Linked DNA regions of Homo sapiens: region 1 is linked to region 2. Evidence: promoter capture Hi-C in 16 types of primary human blood cells and fetal thymus (Javierre and others, 2016). All regions are on one chromosome and are shown on one strand. The core of a region is centred on a gene start or on the middle of the fragment in contact, and the rest is flanking DNA. Distances in the headings are between cores, read along the strand shown. Region 1 has its middle 21 kb from the start of NFIL3. Region 2 holds the start of AUH (AU RNA binding methylglutaconyl-CoA hydratase).

What was found. The method cuts DNA at HindIII sites, captures the fragments that hold promoters and counts their contacts. A CHiCAGO score of 5 or more calls a contact.
Region 1: a contact is called between a fragment that was not itself captured here and the fragment with the promoter of AUH in region 2, in 2 of 17 cell types (neutrophils and megakaryocytes). The highest score is 6.0, in neutrophils.

The regions. Positions count from the first base shown.
Region 1 is chr9:91,400,421-91,405,618 of GRCh38, reverse strand. No RefSeq gene overlaps it. Among named protein-coding and RNA genes, the nearest start is that of NFIL3, 21 kb to the left of the region's middle. The HindIII fragment of the contact is 5,682 bases long and covers 1-4,167 here.
Region 2 is chr9:91,360,646-91,366,087 of GRCh38, reverse strand. AUH (AU RNA binding methylglutaconyl-CoA hydratase) reads left to right here and starts at 4,170. Exons shown (of 10, transcript NM_001698.3): 1 at 4,170-4,460. The coding sequence starts at 4,199. RefSeq lists silencers at 1,055-1,255, 4,000-4,439. The HindIII fragment of the contact is 2,357 bases long and covers 3,460-5,442 here.

The DNA of each region.
Region 1 (5,198 bases), core at 77-2,576, 42 kb before region 2:
AATGAGACTAAGGCGTCTCTCCAACCTGCATGAGAAAAGGAAGGAGTCCAAGGGAGTATCCAAAGTGACTTTGCTCTGTCAATCAGTAAAACTGCTGTCTAAGCATCTACTTGTATAGATATATAATAACTGTGTAATAACTTTATTCTTTTTTGTCCTCAACCAGCAAACATTCCCAAATTAAAACAGCCCCCATCAGCGTAGGTCTTCCATTGCTCATGGATATGCACACGTGTTTCCTCTCCTGAAGTCAGATTCCTCACAAATGGGCACCTTTTTGACACACAGCCGTTGTTAATTAAAACCTTAAAAGAAATCATGTTACATTTTTTAAAAAACTAGTAGCTGTTAAGCTCATTTTTTGAAAACTATGAATTATTTCTCAGAAATGAAAATTATTGGCAGCACCCACCTGGTTTTTGTTGCTTTGTGTTCTGTGGGGCAGAGATGGGGAGTTGTTGAAGTGTAGTATTAATTACCACTGGGATGTCTTGTGCTGGGCCACCAGCTACTTGCACCAAAAAAATTTAAATAAGAAAAACTTGTGGTTGGGTGTGGTGGCTCACGCCTGTAATCCCAGCACTTTGGGATGACAAGGCGGGCGGATCACCTCAGGTCAAGGGTTCGAGACCAGCCTGGCCAACATGGTGAAACCCTGTCTCTACTAAAAATACAAAAATTAGCCAGGTGTGGTGGCGGGCACCCGTATTCCCAGCTACTCAGGAGGCTGAGAGAGTAGAATCACTTGAACCCAGAAGACAGAGGTTGCAGTGAGCTGAGATTGTGCCACTGCACTCCAGCCTGGGTGACAAGAGCGAGACTCCATCTCAAAAAAAAAGAAAAAAAAGAAAAAAAAAATCTTGCCAAGGATGTGAAATTGTGGCATACTCAAAATACCAGTGAGGATACAGAAGTAAGAGAACATGCAGAATTATGAACCATATAGTCTTCCCAGAAAAAGGTACACAAGGATATCTCTGGAAAGGTAATAAAAAATACAACTGGTTTAAAGAGTCAGCCATGCACGGTGGCTCACACCTGTAATCCCAGCACTTTGGGAGGCTGAGGCAGGCGGATCACCTGAGGTCAGTAGTTCAAGATCAGCCTGGCCAACATGGTGAAAGCCTGTCTGTACTAAAAATATAAAAATTGGCCGGGCGTGGTGCGCGCATCTGTAATCCCAGCTACTTGGGAGGCTGAGACAAGAGAATTGCTTGAACCCGGGAGGCGGAGGTTGCAGTGAACTGAGATCATGCCACTGAACTCCAGCCTGAGTGACAGGGCAAGACTCCATCTCGAGGGAAAAAAAAGAGAGAGAGAGTTTGGCAGTAATTCCCAGAGGTTGCTTATTTTGATTCTAGTGGATGTAAGGAAAAAATTAATTCAAGAATTAGTGAAAATAAGACCCGGGGTAGTATGAGCACCAGAAAATAGACGACACTTCCTGACGAAGAGGCGCTACTTAGAAAGTTGGGAGAGAGAAGCTGTCACTGCTAAGTCATGCTGGAGACCGGCAAAGAGTGGTTACTGTCTGCTGAGTATCGATAAGTCTACAGAGAGGCAAACAGAAGTACTTGTGTAGAGCCTTCTAAAGTAAACTATTTCAGCTAAGTAGCCCAGACAGGTATGACGGCCATTTTTTATACCTCACTTTTGTCAATCTGATCCACTTGAGAAGGAAAAGGTTACTTTGGGGAAAAAACCTTAATAAAGTCCAAAGTTCTGGAGGTCAAGAAACTTTTGAAAGAGTACATGGAAGAAATCATGGTAGGAAAGGAGGGAGAAAAAGGAAGTTGTTCAAGAATAACATAGCAATCTAACAAAAGGGAGATGAAGAACAGGAAGGAACCTCAAAATTAATAACCCCTGAAGTAAACATATTTCAGTATAACAGGGTTAAAAAACAAAGTTGTTCTAACAGCTATGTCAGATTTCTAGTGAGAGAGGGAACTTTCTTTCTGAGAAAAGAACTTTGATATGATACTGGGATCCCAGCAGAAATGCTAAAAACCGTGATGTTTGTAGATGCCTGGCACAAACATAGGTAAGTTGCTTTGCAGAGAAAGTGAGTCAGATGATGGTGGTGATTTGTGCTTTTTTAGGGCAGCGGGGAGGATTGCTTTTGAAAGAAAGAGGATGGAGGAGAAAAGAGAAGGGAGGGAACCCTGCCTGGCTAAAGAGCCAATGCAGACTCCCTGTGGGTGGGCAGCCACAGGACCCAGAAGGCCACTGTCTGATTTGAAATAGTTTCCATTGCCGAATGGAAACAGTCCAGAATATTTCCTCCTTAGATTTTCAGTAGGTCCTACTAGACTCAGAAATGCTTTTTGTGAGTTTTTGTTTGCTGGACTTTATATCTGAGTGAGCATTCTGCAGAGCAGCTTGTCTGAAAGCAGGAGTCCAAGGCCATGGCCATGAAGGCTGACCCGAGGAACCTGCAGAATCTGGAAGGAGACTTGGACTGTGACGACCCATGCAACTAAGACCTGGAGGTCATCTTATCTAGATCTCAGGGGTTAGGGAACACCCCTACCTGCTAATTTTCAATGACCATGAATCGCCTAATGGATACCCAGTTCTGTGCAACATGCTGTAAAGGAAACATAACAAAAAGAAACTATCTCCTTGTGAAGAGTTTTAAATCTACCTGTAAAGGAAAGACCAAAATGCTAAAAGTAGTAAGAGCCAATAGAGTACATTATCAAGAGGTAGAATAGGTAGAAAGAAATCTATCTGGCTGGGTGCAGTGGCTCACGCCTATAATTCTAGCACTTTGGGAGGCCAAGGCGGGCAGATCACAAGGTCAGGAGTTCAAGACCAGCCTGGCCAAGATGGTGAAACCCTGTCTCTACTAAAAGTACAAAAATTAGCTGGGCATGGTGGCGCATGCTTGTGATCCCAGCTACTCGGGAGGCTGAGGCAGAGAATTACTTGAACCCAAGAGGCGGAGGTTGCAGTGAGCCAAGATTGTGCCACTGCATTCCAGCGAGGGCGACAAGGCGAGACTCCATCTCAAAAAAAAAAAAAAGAAATATATCTACCAAAGAAACTCAGGAAACAGAACTGGGAAGAAACTAAAGGACATTTTGGCAATTAAAGAACCTGGATTAGTCAGGTGTGGTAGTCACACCTGTAATCCCATCACTTTGGGAGGCCAGGAAGGAGGATTGCTTGAGCTCAGGAGTTCGAGACCAGCCTGGGCAACATGGGGAAACCCCATCTCTGCAAAAAATTTAAAAATTAGCCGAGTGTGGTGGTGTGTGCCTGTAGTCCCAGCTGGTCAAGAAGCTGAAGTAGGACAATCACTTGAGCCCAGGAGGTCAAGGCTGCAGTGAGCCGTTATTGTACCACTGCACTCCAGCCTGGGTGACACAGCAAGACCCTGTCTCAGGAAAAAAAAAAAAAGACATAAAAAGAAAGCAAAAAAGAAAGAACCTAGATGAGAAGGAAAATTTAGAACTTGGATGAGCAGGGAAGACGTGTTGGGCATGAATACTACTGTTGGGGGCAGGGGGCGGTAAAGTGATGAAGTACTCTGCATCATTGCAGAAGGGAATTTATTCAGAGGATTAGTAACAGAATTCAAAGATGAACATAGAACCAGTTGCCAAAGGACCTTGAATTCCAGGCTTAAGAAAATGCCTTTGATTCACTTAGGAATGGCTGGAGGAAATGTAACCTTGTAAATGCTGCTGAAAGACTTATCAGGGGTGTCAGCTCAAGGTGAATCCAGGTGGGAGAGTCAGGAGAGCAGGTGAGCAGGAGTCAAGAAAAAGATCTGGAGAAGCCAAAGAGCTCTTCCTTCCCTGGGTACATTAGTGTGTTCTGAACACTTCAACAACAGTGAAACCCCAGCAGAGCCAGGGTCACTGAAGATGGTGCATTGTAATGAACCTGTTCTTCATTTTCCGCAAAGTATGATAAGTATCATGATGTTATTTTTTGCTTCTTCAGTTTGTAGTTGCTTTTGTATTGTATGCCCCAAGTGGCACCTAATATCATACCAACATCAATACAGAACAAAATTGGGATAATTACTGAAATAATTCAAGGGAAAATATTCTGAATTTTTTGATATTTTAAATGAGTGTGTTTCTAGAAAAATCAAGATAATTGTCTATATTTTCCACTTCACTTGCTGTGAACATGCAAATTAGGCCTAAAGCTTGCAAAACACACTTAAAAACTCACTTTTTCCAGGTAGAAGGAAGCATCTTAGCACCTCCTCAGAGTCATGGAATAAGGCAGAAATGAGGGAAGTGTCACTCTTCCCATTCATTAAGTTTGAGAGTAAATTAGCCTCAGGCCAGAAAGTTCTAGGATAGAGCAAAGTGTACTATAGGCCAAGCATGGTGGCTCACACCTGAAATTCCAGCACTTTGGGAGGCTGAGGCAGGCGGATCACCTGAGGGCACGAGTTCAAGACCAGCCTGGCCAACATGGTGAAATCCTGTCTCTATTAAAAATACAAAGAATACAGGTGTGGTGGTGCACACCTGTAGTCCCAGCTACTCAAAAGGCTGAGGCAAGAGAATCACTTGAACCCGGGAGGTGGAGGTTGCAGTGAGCTGAGATCATGCCACTACACTCCAGCCTGGGCAACAGAGCGAGACCCTTGTCTCAAAAAAAAGAAAAAAGAAAGAAATAAACGTATGCTGTAATAACTGGTGAAAGCACCAACGTGGGGTGGCTCTCACCTGTAATCCCAGCACTTTGAAAGGACAAGGCAGAAGGACCCCTTTAGGCAGGAGTTTAAGACCAGCCTGGGCAACACAGCAAGACCCCGTCTCTATAAAAAATTTTTAAAAATTAGCTGAGGTGGTGGTGGGCACCTGCAGTCCCAGCTACTTGGGAGGGTGAGGTGGAAAGATTGCTTGAGCCCAGGAGTTTGAGACTGCAGTGAGCTATGATAGCTCCATTGCACTCCAGCCTGGGTGATGGCGAGACCTTGTCTCTTAAAAAACAAAAACAAAACATCTTTTTTCCTCTCTGTGCTTCATATTGGGTAATAAATAAATAACTGGAGAAAGCAATCAAAAATGGCTAAGCAGAAGAAAATACAAGCGATGGCTAGAGCCTGCTACTTTTATTTGTCCCTGCCTAATGTTCTTGCAAGTTCTCTTACACCTCAGTATTATGAATAGCGTACCAAAAATTAAATGGTGCCTTAAACGTGCAGTAACGCATATTTATGATGA
Region 2 (5,442 bases), core at 2,921-5,420:
ACTTTGGGAGGCTGAGGCAGATGGATCACCTGACGTCAGGAGTTCGAGATAAGCCTGGCCAACGTGACAAAACCTTGTTTCTACAAAAAGAAAAAACAAAATTAGCTGGGCATGATGGTGCCTGCCCATAGTCCCAGCTACTCGGGAGGCTGAGGCAGGAGAATCACTTGAACCCAGAAGGTGAGACCACGCCACTGCCCTCCAGCCTGGGTGACAGAGTGAGACTCTGTCTGAAAAAAGAAAAAAAAAGAATTCATAAAGTGAAATAGATATATTAGCTATACTGCAGATGAAGAAGAGGAAGCATGAAGTATTTAAATAACTCACTGATGTCTCAAAGTGGAGCAATTATAGAGCAGGGATCCAAAGCCATGTCTATTTGGTTTGGAATTTGTTAAATTCCTGATATTTGGCAATTTGCTGTTAGTTGTCATGCTTGACAGGTTGTGATAGTCATGGTGATGTTTATTAGTTGCATTAATTTTTAAGAATCAACTTTGGTCACAGACCTGAGATACGTGCATGACTATTGCAAATAAGGACGAGAGTCCCAAATGTTAGGGAAGGGGATAGTCCTCTATGTTGCATTTTTTCCATCAGGCTCTATGCCTTTAGAAACAATGGGTGGTCCTTTGTTTTCTTCTATAACCCAAACAATCTATGATTATCTTTCTGCAGCTGTCCTAGTCAATTATCAGTATTATCTGAAGTTATATTATTTTAAATAGCACTGTCAGGAGCTCTGTATAACTGCTTTCTCTAAATTTACCATCTATTGATGAACCGACATAAAGATATCAAAACAACTGGAGACCAATATTAATAAACAGTAATTATATAATTGCAATAATTGCAATGGTTGATCTGTAAATACAATTGTGAGTTTCCTAGTGTTACGGAACCTTTGAGGTGTCGATTTCCTGGCCAGAAACCTCTGTGGCTGGTGGCACCTTTGCCAGAGTTCTTGTCCTGGGTCCAGGAAGAATGAGGTATGCAGACAAGTGGAGGGTGAACAAGACAAAGAGAAGCTTTATTGAGCATTAAAACAGCTCGGAGGAGACCCGCAGTGGGTAGCTCCTCTCTGTAGGCAGGGTGTCCTGAAGTCTGCCCAGCTCCTAGGAGAGAGGAGGCCCTGGAGAGGGTAGCTCCTCTCTGCAGCTGGTTGTCCTAACATCTGCCCAGCTCCTAGCAGAGAGGAGGCCCTGGAGAGGGTCACTCCTCTCTGAAGCTGGTAGTTCTGACATCTCTGCAAGTCTCTGAAGCTCTCAGCTGAGAGGGTAGCTCCTCTCTGCAGCTGGTTGTCCCATCATCTGCTCAGCTCTGGCTGAGTTGGGGATTTTATGGGCCTCAGAGGGGAGCAAGTGCCTGCCGCTGATTGGTCCATGGGCAGCCATGGGCAGGCTCGGAAAAGGCACCACAAGTTCCCACTCTGGTTCATGGGGCTGGCAGCCCAACCCCCAGCCTTCAGGCCCTCCTTGGCCAGAAGCTGGGGCCTCACTGGGGACCCACCCCCTTCTGCCCAGGAGTCTGTCTGCCTCCCACTGCCATTCATGGTGCCTGGGTTCAGCCTCAACTTTGCTCCAAGAATGGAGCAGGTGCCAACAGCAGGGAGAAGCCAGGCAGCAGGAGCAGGCATTTCTGAGCCTGTGAGGGCATGCAGGGCCTTCCTGGGCCCCCAAGAGTGCAGGGATGCCTGGGGCTGCAGCCGTGGTTTGGGTGGCTACAGCTGCCCTCGGGGAGGGCAGGGCTCCTGCCTGCTCCTGGCCCCCTAAGAGCACAGGGAGGCTCAGATCTGCAGCCACACCTTGGGTGGTGCTTCTGCCTGCTCTGTGGAGCAGGAGGCCCCAGTCTGCAGCTGTGCTGCAGAGGCAACCAGGGAGTTCCCACCCCAACTCAGAAGGGGTGGGTCTCCCGCTTGTCCCTGGCTCCCGCCAGAGAGCGTGCAGCCCTGGCCATGCCTCCCTGCTGCAGCAGTAGGCCGTCTGGAGCAGCCGCTGCCATCTCTAGTACAGTAATTCTCATAATTTTATTTTGCCTTGGTATCCATTTTGAATATGTTTAACTTTCTCATATGAGAAGCAGGGCTCAATCACCTTTGATACAGTTTCCAGTTCTCTGCTTCCTCCCAGTTCTTCAATGTGATCCATCCAGATATCTGCTTAATGCAACTGCTTCCTGGTGACCATCTCCCTATGGGACAGGTAAATGCAGCCTGCTTGACTCACCTGTTGACCTCCATAACCCACATGGACTGTGTAGATGGGCTCCAGTGACCACCTCACAGTGACAGGGTGACTCCATGGAACTTGTGCCTGCTTGTTCTAAACTCACCAATTAGAACTTCCATGGGAAACTGCTTGGGTAACACGCTGGACCCCAACAGAGGCTTTAGCTCCACAAGTGCCCCTTCCTTGACCCCCTTCCACTGGCTGAACTCCCTGTCACCTCCAGATTTACCCTCCCTCTGGTGACCACAAGACCAAATTAGAAAGAAACCATAACAATAAAAATCACAACACCCAGCAGTCAACATGTACATCATTATCAGAAAAGAGGAAAGATACAAAGGAAGCAAAGTTTTCCTTGTAGTAAACTTCAGGAAAATTTTCCTGCATGGAACTTTACAAAAGATAGAATAAAAAGTGGGCTGTGCATGGTGGCTCACACCTGTAATCCCAGCATTCTGGGAGGTCAAGTTGGGTGGATCACTTGATGTCAGGTGTTCAAGACCAGCCTGGCCAACATAGAAACACCCATCTCTACTAAAAATACAAAAATTACCCAGGTGTGGTGGTGTGTGCCTGTGATCCCAGCTACTCAGGAGGCTGAGGTGGGAGGATCATTTGAGCCTGAGATGCAGAGGTTGCAGCGAGAGGCGATCACACCACTGCACTCCAGCCTGGCCGACAGAGCCAGAACCTGTCAAAAAATAAAAAATAAAAATAAAAATAAAAGTGCCTTCAACATCATTTTACAGCAGATGCAGTAATGGAATTCAGTCTACTTTTTGTTTCTACATTGGATAAAAGTTGAGGACATAATGAAGGATGTTTTGCTTAGGACTAAAAAATACAAGAAATTTCTGTGGCACTAGACGTATGCTCATAGCAGCACACTTTTCAAACAGTATTCTTTTTTTTTTTTTTTTTTTTTTTTGAGACAGAGTTTCACTCTTGTTGCCTGGACTGGAGTGCAATGGTGCAGTCTCAGCTCAGGGCAACCTCCGCCTCCCGGGTTCAAGCAATTCTCCTGTCTCAGCCTCCCGAGTAGCTGGGATTACAGGCGTGTGCCGCCACACCTGGCTAATTTTGTATTTTTAGTAGAGACAGGGTTTCACCACGTTGGCCCGGCTGGTCTCAAACTCCTGACCTCAGGTGATCCACCTGCCTCGGCCTCCCAAAGTGCTTGGATTACAGGCGTGAGCCACCGCCCCCTGCCCAGTATTCTTAAATGCAAGCTTTCCCATTAGAGATCTGATAAAAGCTAGGTAGCATTAATTATACTGCAACGTGCTTTGATGAGTACCTACACACTAAATTGATATCCCGAGTTTCTGGAAGAGCTACATACTCTAAATCCCATCTCAGCGTATGGCTTGTTTGAACCCCTGTAAGACTCTTTCCGTCCAGGAAGGGCCATGGGACATCGGTACGAGTGGGTGGGCTGGAGAAAGAACTCCTTTGCCTGTTTGCTGTTCTCATCCTTTTCCTGAACGCCACGTAGTAAACATCATTTATGCTTATCAGGGACGCTAAACCAACAACCTGAGATCCATAAGTAAGGCAGTGACCAACGATGGGCTGCCACACTTTCAGCCAACTTGAGGAGACAAAACTTTTTTGTTCACTTTTGCAGCTTACTTAACACAGGACCGCAGGGCATGGTCCAGGGAGTACGGGGAGATAATTCCCTCCGGGTGGTTCTTATAGAAAAGTCTTCCCTGAATTATTCCATAACCTTGGAAAACTACTTTCTTTCCTTTTGTATTGGACAAACCATCCAATCTCGCTTGGAGAATGGGGCAAGGCCTCGGGTCACCGGGCTTCGGCGGGGCAGTGAGGGGCGGGAACACGGCTCCGGAGGGCGGGGCCAAGCCGGAGCGAGGCGGCGGGTCCGGACGCCGTGCGCGTGCGCGCGGCAGGTCGGCGCCGGGCGGGGGCGGAGCGGCCGTCGCAGGTCCACGCCGTAAACAGACAACATGGCGGCCGCGGTGGCGGCGGCACCTGGGGCCTTGGGATCCCTGCATGCTGGCGGCGCCCGCCTGGTGGCCGCTTGCAGTGCGTGGCTCTGCCCGGGGTTGAGGCTGCCCGGCTCGTTGGCAGGCCGGCGAGCGGGCCCGGCGATCTGGGCCCAGGGCTGGGTACCTGCGGCCGGGGGTCCCGCCCCGAAAAGGGGCTACAGCTCTGAGATGAAGACGGAGGACGAGCTGCGGGTGCGGCACCTGGAGGAGGAGAACCGAGGTGAGGTGCGAACGCTGGGCAGGCGCGGGGCAGCGGGCGGCCGCTCGCTCTCAGGACGGGCATAAGGTGCAGCGTCCGCCGGCAGGACGCGGGGTCGAGGTCAGGCAGGCGCACCGAACCTGGGTCCCTCCCCTTTCTCACCTCCCTACTCACCCAGCGTGGCCGCTTCCTTGTGCACCTATTTCTTGCTTTTAATAACCTAAACGTGTACCCCCGAGCAGCTTACCTGTAAAGTGACCGCATTCAGCGCGGCAAACAGAAGTGCAGCTTACGCCCTCCGCTCCAGACAAGCCAAGGTCAATATATACCCTGGGGATTTAATCCTTGCTACCAGGCTTTATTGTTGCTGTGTAATGGCTTTCTGTAAACTCAGCTATTAGTGGTGGAGTTGTAAAAGCTGCGGTGAAACTGCCTTTTATTATTACGGAGAATCTTAAATTTGAAGCTGCTCAGCTGGAACAATTTTTCCTCTTGTTCATTTTCTCTTAGAAAGTTAGTCTTGAGGGACTGTTCCACTTCATTTAAACAATTTTGAGCACTTTTTATTTTCCTCAGCTCTGGCGATAAGAATGTGGATGGTATGGATCTTGCCCTTGAGCTACCTTCTACGGGAGGAGACATCATTAGCAATACAATACAGAGCTTTGAAGGCTTTGAAGGAGGCTGACAATCCTAGGGAATACTGTTACAGCTCAGTTCCTTTCACTGGCAGTGCAGGGAAAAGCTAAAAGGGTCGTGAAGGGTGGAATAGCAGTTTCCACCCTTAACCTCCGGGTTAAGCCAGAGGACCAGTGTTTTAATTTTGACATGCATTTGTTGAGCACCTATAATCTGTTAAGCAGAAGTGAAAAGCGTGTAAGTCGTGATTGGTTTTAGTGTAGTGAAGCAGATCCTGGTTATTAGTAGGCTGTGTGAACTTTCAAGGCATGGTAAGAGGAAAGGGCTGTAATACCTGCAGGGTTTCGCCATTTGAAAGGGGTTC